Linked DNA regions of Homo sapiens: region 2 is linked to region 1. Evidence: promoter capture Hi-C in 16 types of primary human blood cells and fetal thymus (Javierre and others, 2016). All regions are on one chromosome and are shown on one strand. Each heading gives the region's core, a stretch centred on a gene start or on the middle of the fragment in contact. The rest is flanking DNA. Distances are from core to core; before and after follow the strand shown.

Region 1 (4,666 bases), core at 1,184-3,683:
CCCTATTTATTTATTTATTTATTTATTTCTCTGAGATGTAATTAATTGTATGAAATGTCAAGGCTCAGTCTCAGTTTTATGCACCTTTCCCGCCCCTGACTTCTCCCTAACTCGTCAATAGCTTGATGCAAATTTGGAGCAATTAGGGACCTTGAGTTTTCTAAAAGCTGCAATTAACGTCGAAATTTCCGCTGATTATAGACTTTGAACACAGCCCAGGGGGAAAGGAGGAGGTCAGATCTTGGCTCAACGAAAGCCGGGGACTGAAAACTCTTATTCCTGCTGGGGCTCCTAGCTCTTCATTCCGCCCCCTGCGCTGACCCCTGTCGTCCCACGGAGCAAAGAAACCACACACAACAGAATAAAAACAACACCCTGGCTGCGCGCCCCTCCTCCTCCGCGAAGCCCTCAACGATCGCCGCTGCTCGGACCTTGCGTGGTCCTCGCTTTCCGGTGCCCTGGGAGTCACCTAGCGTCCCTGACAGCCGAATGACCTCTGGCAGGGACGGGGTCAGAGCCCCATTTATTTCCCAGCCTCCATTATCTCCGCGCTCCCCCTTCCCTTTCCGCCAGCTCAGCCTCCCGACGTCCCAGCGCCCCCATCTTCCCTGCAGTTCATTTGATAGAAAATTGGGGCGGGACCTACTTGTGGGGCGCAGGTTAGTGGTATTGGGGTCCGCTCCCGCGTTCGAGGAGGTTGCGGACGAAGATGGGGTCGAAGACGCCATCAGCTCGGTCGTCCCGGGGCCTCTACTGTCCAGAGTCCTCGACTGGTCCGGCGCAGAAACAGGCTGCAAAGAGAAGCGAGAGCTGTGCGGGGAGGACTTCCGGGGTCCTGCACACCGGAGGGACTGAGCAGCCGGGGGCACGGAGGCTCCCCTTGAAGATCCGGCTCTGGAGAGACAAGAGGGAGGAAAGGCAGCGAGCCTGCCTGGTAGGGGTGCGCAGGGGTGGGGGCAGCGGAGGAGACGTGCGCGCTAGCTCCGGTACTGGGGCGCAGGGAGCGTAGCCCTGGGCCGCTCTCGAGTCTGGCGGTGCATCGGCGCGACCTGGAGTGAAGCGCCGAGACGAGGCGGGGTCGGGGTCGGGGTGGGGGTCCAAGGCCAGTACAAGACGCAAGGGTGTGGGGGACTAGGCTAGGAGCACAGGGGAGCGCTCAGTGAGCGATTTTCCAGCCGAGCCGCTACAAGCCCCATTGGGCACTCAGCAGCCGGCGTGTGGGCCAGCGGGGGGAGGGCGCACGGGGCGGGCATGTCTGGTTCGGTGTCTGGTTCCCGTTGTTGTGTCTGGCTAATTCCCTGGAAAGAAAGAGGCTAACTGCTCCGGGGACTAGGGACTTTGGTGAGACAAGGTGAGAGGGGGAAAAAGGCCCATATCTTTACGTTCTCCCTCGGACTTGGCCAGAGAAGAACCACAGTCACCTTGCACTCCAGACAGCCAGAAAGCAGCGAGTCGGAATGTTGCTTGCCTCCCTCTTATCCCAGCCGGTTTTTAGCCATCGCTAAGCCTAGGGCGAGGTTTCGGTCCGGTTTCAGCGTTTCTCCTCTACCTAGCCCCCTGAGGACCCCAGATTTCTCGCGGTACAGATCCAGAGAGGGTGGGGTAAGTAAGCATGGGGAACGTCACCGGGGAAACGAACTTGCGCGCAGCGCGCAGGAGGCGGCGGACAAAGATCTTGCGCGGCGCCCCTGCTCGACTCTCGGCGCTGGCGCGATGGCGCCCGAAGGCCCCGGGACAGAGAGATTGCGGGCTAATCTGGGTAGATCGAGGACCCCACAGAGAAGGGCCCACCGGCCATCGCCTCCACACCCTCCCTCCGACCTCACTCCTAGCCCCGCGCGCGCAGTCGCACAGCAACTCGGGCAGCGGGTCGACTACGGCCCCTGGAAAAGTAACAGGTTACCGTTCCTAGTAGCGCCTTCGGCTGCTGCTGCCCAGGCGCCCTTTGGAGGGACAGGCGCTCGCAGCATGGAAGCTCAAGGGAAAATCGCTCTTGCCCCACTTCAACTAGAGCCTCAGCCTCCGTGCTTCCCCGGGGCGTGAATCCGGAGGGCAGGGATAAGAAGAGTGACGAGGGAGGCGGGGGGGGGGGGGTCCCTGCGCAGCGCACCCGTGGAGAGCAGGGACTAGGGCGGGCAGGAAGCACTCATTTCGGGAGGTTGGGTGGCCGGCGCTGGGATGGGGTTGGTTGAGAAGCCGCGGGAGGAGAGGACCTGGCTGAAAAGCCACGGTTGGGCGCTGGGAAGTCCAGGTGGTCGCTAGCTTACCCACCTCGGCTCTGCGACAGCGAGCCGGGCACTCCCGCCTTTCCTCTGCACAGCGCCCAGCGATCCGCTCGGCTCGGCCCTGACAGGCGTAATCTGCCCGGCGTCACCTCCAGCTGCTTCCTCGTTCTCGCTAGTTCCCTCTCGCACGCGAGCGCCAGGAGAAGAGAGAGATTCGGAGAGGCGGCTGCACGGCTCCGGGGTAGGCGGGGGCAGAGTGGGGAGGCGGGGACCGGATCGGCGGGGAAATCACGAGGCCGTTGCTCGCGGGGGCAGCTAGTCGGCGGAGCGGCGGGGCTCCTCTGCAGGTGCCTGACCGCCTCTGGAGCTTTATAGGGCGATTATAAATCCAGCTCACGGTTTTGCGCCCGGAAGGAAAAAAAAAAGGTCTTATGAGTAATCCAGAACGTACTCAACACGCTTTTTTTTTTTCCTTTGGAAATAGGCAGGCTGTCGGGTGAGAGGAGGGAAAAGATAATTCCTACGAAGAATTCTGCCTTTCTGAGCGTTTCTTCTTCCCTCCCCTCCTTTCCCCTCTCCCATTTCCCCTCCCCCTCCCATATATTGTAGGAGACGAGCGGCGGTTTTGCCTCAGTGCTTTTCCCCGGGGTTCCCCCAGATCTGTGACCCTGCGACGCTTCCTTGAGCGAAAGCGCGCTTTGGGTCGTGTCCTCGTTGGCTCTCTACGGAGCTGGGATTGTTGTAACCGCAAAGGAGGCAGAAATGAGGGGAGACCTCTTAGACCATGGAGGAATTACAGTTTCCTCATCCAGCCCTGGGCCCCATCAAAGTACCACACCTGGCCACAGCTACCCAGTGCCACCGGCAGAGAAAAGGACCCCGCGTCCCTTTTGCTATGCGCTCGCTCCTCGCTTTGGCCCCCTTGGTGATGGGAAAAGAAGGCCTCCTGATTAATCACGTTTGAAGGTTGATGACACGCACGAGCGCCGCTGCACGCGCATGGGGCACCCGAGCACAGAGGTGCCCGGAAGGGGCGGACCAGCCCCCCTTGCCCTGGCCCGCTCCCCCTTCGATTTCACGCGCTTTAAGGATTCTCCCTTTGCAATATTTAGGCGTAGTTAAAAGAACCGCTGCGTTGGGAGAAGCCCCTCGCCGTAAAAATGCGTTGAAAGAGAAATTCCCACCAGAGGGCGCCAAGAGCCCAGAGACGGAGAGGCCCTGCGCTCCCGGGTCTCTCCGCCAGCGCCCGAGCGGAGCCCACACCTGGAGCTGCTGGCCAGACGGTTACGCGCCGGCTTGCCTCTTCATGCCTTCCCTCACCGCCCTGTCACTAGTTTAAGTTCTCCCCTTTCTTCTCCCCCAGTTTTTTTCTTTAGGGCAAAAATGTTGATGTCTGTGCGTGTCTGGGTGACACCGTGTAGGCAGTGATTCCTTTACTGGTATTTACCGTGGTCCTCCCCCTCTCCCCAGGTGGTGCAGCACGCAGGGGTTATTTATGCGCACGTCTGGGGCCTCACTGGTTCAGCGGAGGCCCGTCCGTTTTCTTTGAATGCCTTATCGCCTTTCACCACAACACAATGGAAACACACACAAAAATATTATAAATTACCGAGAGTTCCATAAGGGAGATCGAAGGGTCCGCCCTGGGCAGACATGGCCTGATCAGCAAGAGGGATCTCGCTGTGGGGTTTGAAATAATCGCGTTGCCTTTGGTACTAAAGAAACTACTGTTTTGTCGCCTTGTCTCCACCTGACGATGAAATCCCCGGCACTTTTTAAGGACACAAAAAACATCCTAAACGGCGGGGCGCGCGGTGACTGCAGCCCCGGGCACTGAGGCTTGGGGCTGGACAGGCTGGGGGTGTCTGCTCCACGTAGGAAACGTCCCCCCAAACCACTCAACCGGCAGCTGCTCTGCGCTGCTTGAAGTGGGCGGCATACAACCAGGTGAAGCTCGGAATTCCATCCACCGGCCCTCCTAGAGCCTTCCCTAAACGAGACGCTCGCACCAATCAGGGAGCCAGGTGCCAGTGCTAAATCATTCAAGACGCACGGGGCAGGAGACAGGAAGGAGGAGGCAACACATCTCCCGGTGCCCCTCGTTCTTCATTGTCCAGCATAGACGCCCGCTCGCCTCAACCTTTTCCCAAAACCCGTGATTCCCTGGAAAGGAAGATTCGTTTACTTCACCTGTGGCACGAGATTGAGACATTTCCAACCACTTCCTCCTTTGACCCCAGAGTTCAAAACACCCCTAACGTTTTAGCCAATGAAATAATCTCGTTGGAGAAGGAATCTCCTGCAAGGCTAGGTAACGCAAGCTGAAGCTGAGTCCGTCCAGCTTCGAGGACATCCCTCTCTTTCTCCTTTATGGTGAGTAGGGGAGGAATGAAGACTTTTGTCCGTCCTTGTTTAGAATGTTTAATTGAATATTAGCAGTA
Region 2 (4,666 bases), core at 848-3,347, 540 kb after region 1:
CTAAGACATCGGGAAGTCTTGAAATAAAGAAACATGTTCACTTTTCTTAAACTAGAATTTCTCAAATACATTTGGGAATGCAACCTTCATAAATTGTCATTGTTATTATTGTTTTCAATTGGCGTGTTTAAATATCCTATGAAGCAATGTTTAAGTCTGAGAGATGCCTGCTCAGGAGAGTATAATCAATATTGTTTAAAGCTTTCAAATCAAATAGTTAGTAGTTAGGCAACAACATTAAATGGGGACCTAGCAGAAGCTGGAGCTCAGAAATACGGGCTTATTTCTTTCTGAACATAATATTTTGCTTTTATCAGTACTCAGAACTGGAAAGTAGAGAAATAGTACTTTCTATTTTGGCAACATTTTTGAATAATGTCAAGCAAGTCAAAAAGCAATATCATGTCCCATAATCAACATTTCTATTATCTGGATCCTATGGTCCCAGGAAAAAAGAAAAAGAATTGGGTAAAATGATGCAAAAAAAGTTAAAGATTTTTGATTAGGAAATTAATGTGTTGTAGAGAAAATATTATTTTACTTTGCGTTTTTTTCTTTTTTATTGCTTCTTTATTAGGTTAAGTTTATTAAGTTAAAATTTACATACAGTAAAAGTCACCTTTTTCAATGTAGAGTTCTGTGCATTTTGATAAGCACATAGAGTCATGGAATTATCACTAGAATCAAGATATAGAACATTTCCATCACTCCAAATAGTAGCTTCATGCCTCTGTAGTCAGTTCCCTCTCTTCCTCACACAACCCTATGCCTTTCAGGTTTTGACTCTACAGAATAATTTTCTGGGTGCCCTGCAGCATCTTTAGTGCCTACTGTTAGTTCACTCATCCAATATTTACCGAGCCTACTAAAAGTAGCCACTTTGCTATGTGGAACTGAGAACACAGTGAGTAGAATCCTTGTGCTAATCAAAGCTTTCCCGGTTGCACTGAAAAGAAACCTGCTTCAAAAAGCTTGAGTTAAAGGAGTTTTATTTAAGGATGCAAAGGGATAAAGCATTCCAATGAATCTGAGAACCCAAAATTACATTCAGACAGGCCTCAAGTAAAAAAGCTAGGAAGAGAAAAGAAAAAAGGCTGGAAATTTGGATTAATCCCTGGATATTATTGTCTCACCTACGTCTAACGTCAGCTTGGTCTCTGTCTTTCTCTCTCTCAGTGTCTCTCTCTCTCTCTCATTCTCTCTCCCTCCCTCTGTCTAAAGCCATCTTGGTCTCTCTCTCAGTCTTGATCTCTCTCTCTCTCTCTCTCGTAGTTTGCTTTGCCTATGCATCTGATATATGTCTAATATGGCCAGACCAGCCCAAACTCTTTCCAACTTTTCAGCTCATACACACATCACCGATTAAATGACTCTCTATGTCTCAGTTAAAATTTCCAAGAAAGGAAATCTGATTGGCCCAGCTCCACATCTATGGCTTCCCCAGGTGCCCCCCCACTGCCATTTAAAGTGGGGTCTCCAGGCCTCTCATTAATAGCCAGGGGCTAGGGAATTGCGGTCCTTTTGAGCCTGAAAATGTCTTATTCCAGGAATAAAGCAATTGTCACAAAAAAATATGTATTAGACCAACTTTATGTGATAATTACACGAGTCCAATCCTGCTTGACGGGTTTGAGGAAGGTTTCACCGAGGAAGTGACATATGAGCTGAGTTTTGAAGGATGGTCACCATGTAGATAGTGGCAGGTCCAAGGGGAATATGGAAGATGAAGTACGTGAGAGGAAGGAAGAAATGAGCATCCCAGGCAGATGATACAGTATGTGTTAAACATAAAGAACGATGAAAGACTATGTCTTCTTCAGAGACTTAATTTGATACGGCTGGAGAGCAGGATTCTTTAGGCAGACTCAAGAGAAAATAAGCAGGAACTAGAGTTTGAAAGACCTTCTAGGCTGTAACAAGAGATTTGAACTTCATCCTTTGGGCAGCTGTGGGCCATCCAGGGGTGTGAGGCAAGAGGAGGATTCTAGACTTATTGGGATAATATACAGCAAGGACCCAGGGTCTCAGCATTCTGAGATCCCTAGTTTCGCCTCCAGTTCCCAAGACAGAAATGCAGGTGGGTTGCTCCAGGCTAAATCACTTTTAATTATCAGTTGAGGCTTGGACCTCAAACCCCCACATGGTCACTGGGTGAGATGGGCCAGACTATAGATTGCTCAGAGCATCCTTTTGGCCTTGGCTCCGGGCTGAGTAGTCTCTTTGGATTCTTCCTGGAGATCCACTTTTGAATCTTGGCCCTCTTGATCTTAAGTCTCAAATGGCAAATACAGCTGATCCTAAGGGAAACACATATACACTACCCCACCCCAACCCATCTAAAAGAAAAAGGAGAAAGAGCAATTGACCCAATACTCCTTCCCATAATGGTTACTATCTTAGTCTGTTTTGTGCTGCTGTAACAGAATCCAGACATTGGTATCCACAAGCTAATACATTTTCTGTTCATTATACCAGAATAGTATTATGAGATGTACAAGATTGAGACGTACAAAACTGAAGGCTTAAGGATCTTGCTACATCGTCCCATGGCAAAGGGGCAAAGAAAGGGCAAAAGAAAAACAGAAAAGGGCCAAACTTGTCCTTTTATGAAGAACTCACTCTTACAATAATAGCATTAATACAGTCACTCCACCCTCATGGTCCAGTCACCTCTCATTATGCCCCACCTCCCAACACTGTTGACACGGGGGATTAAGTTCTCAACACATGGTTTTTGGGAGACACTCTCAAACCATGGTAGTTACCACTCCCACCTCTACCTGCCCTGTCACTACTGTGGTCTACTGCATTCATTGCCTTGGTCTACTCCTTGTGGGTGAGTAAACTGAAGGAGGAAAACTTGGGCTCCCTTTAGAGTGTTGAGTATTCCACTGGTGATGAGACAAAAATCAAAGGCCAACTGATGTGGGGAATGGATTGGACAGGTTAACTCTGGAAGTAGGGAGACCAGCTGGGGACTGCTCCAGTGGTCCAGACTGATGAGGGTTACACCAAGGCAGTAACAGAAGGGTTGGAAAGGAGCCATCCCAGGATTCTCAAGTTTGAGTGAGCCTCAGAAGCACCCACAGGGCTTGTTAAAACACAGATCACTGGTCCCCACTCCCAGTTTCTGATTCAGTCAGTCTAGGCTAGGGCCTGTGAATTTGCATTTCTAACATGTTCCCAAGTGATGCCGATGCTATCGGTTCAGAGACCAAGCTTTGAGAACCATTGGAATAGCCCATTTCCATGGGCCAAGTTAAAAAAAAAAAAAAGTTTCCCTTCTGTCACTATTTAGAAAGAGGGACATCACTGGGTTAGAAGCAGTAAGATGAAATGTAGAAATATAACAGTCCCTCACCAGTCAGCTGGCATCTGCAAGTTTACTAGATACAAAGAGCTATTTTCACATTATTATATACTGAAACCTGAATACAAATAGGCCACTAAAACCTACTAGTCCCCACCTCAAATTCTGAGACTACATTCAGAGTAACTTAAAAACAAAAGTCATTTTGGGAACATTTCCGAAGCCCACTATAGTATCAGTCAGTGCTGGGCATAAAGGAAGAATTCAGTAAATTTGGCTTGTTTGTGGTTAAAATTCTTATTATAACAATTAGCAATTTTCAGAATTCCTTAATAAGACCAGACAAGTAGCACTGATACATGCCTTCACAAGATAGCACAGTTTGAGGAGCTTCAGAGTTCATTGCATGTTAAAATCACCAGTTACAATGACTCTCAGCCATTAGGCCACGTTGTACTCTATGCACTGGGCCAGATTCCACACTTAGGCAAAGGCAGCTGATGGAGGAGGTTAAAAGCATCAAATATCAAAGTATCAACTTTGGTAGGCCACCTCCCTTCATAATTGAGACACTTCTGTTGGAGAGTTGAAAATATATTCTAGACAGATGACATGTTAACAGAGTCATTTCATGGTTCACCATTCTCTCAGTGTGATTTATTTATATCTGTAGGCACCAGAGGCCCCTATTCAAGAGATGTATGAGCTACCTATAAGATTCCATTTTGTTGAAGGAAATGTGTGTATTATTTAAAAACAAAATAACATTTATTTTAAGATTATGCTGCTTTCCAGTTAAAGGCTAAATGTTCACCACTTTAACATTCCCTGTGCCCCACCCATTTCTTTACTCCATTAACAAATACTAAAATAATACCTGAAGGGGAAAGGAAGAAGTCTTTCTCATTTCTGAACCCCTGGAAACCAGGTTACAAAACCTGCATGTGACTTCCAAAGTTGCTACTTAGTAGCAATCTTTACCGGCTCCAATTTCTATATCTGGCAAATAAATATAACTGCCTTTCAAGGTCTGAGAATTAACTTAGATAATAAATGTGGATATGCTTATAAACGGTGAAGTGTTACCCAACTCCATGGATGTGGAACTGGCTGTAGTGGTTGTTGGAATAAAATACTTTTCTTCCTTTATCTCATATTTACCATCCAAATTCAACTACAAAAGGCTTATGAAACACACAGTGAAAAGGGCCAAATGTTTAAGTTCATGCAATGGCTAGCCATCGGTTGTAGCTCCCTTGTTGAGTACTCTTCTTCCCTGGGGTCACACCTCCAACCCTCTCAAACCCTGCTACGTCCTCTCCTAAACTACCATTCCAACAGCCTTGCCACGTTGGA

Evidence for each region. Contacts are between HindIII fragments. The CHiCAGO score rates a contact against its expected background, and 5 or more counts as called.
Region 2: a contact is called between a fragment that was not itself captured here and the fragment with the promoter of GAD1 in region 1, in 1 of 17 cell types (megakaryocytes). The highest score is 5.5, in megakaryocytes.

What each region holds. Positions count from the first base shown.
Region 1 is chr2:170,814,654-170,819,319 of GRCh38, reverse strand. GAD1 (glutamate decarboxylase 1) reads right to left here and starts at 2,433. Exons shown (of 17, transcript NM_000817.3): 1 at 2,272-2,433; 2 at 647-791. The coding sequence starts at 728. GAD1-AS1 (GAD1 antisense RNA 1) reads left to right here and starts at 669. Exons shown (of 4, transcript NR_197761.1): 1 at 669-934; 2 at 1,405-1,602; 3 at 2,288-2,466; 4 at 2,835-4,666. RefSeq lists enhancers at 1-518, 519-1,042, 2,282-2,451 and a silencer at 2,539-2,618. The HindIII fragment of the contact is 11,655 bases long and covers 1-4,666 here.
Region 2 is chr2:170,270,692-170,275,357 of GRCh38, reverse strand. The region is part of intron 7 of MYO3B (myosin IIIB); the gene reads right to left. Among named protein-coding and RNA genes, the nearest start is that of MYO3B-AS1, 78 kb to the left of the region's middle. The HindIII fragment of the contact is 2,248 bases long and covers 974-3,221 here.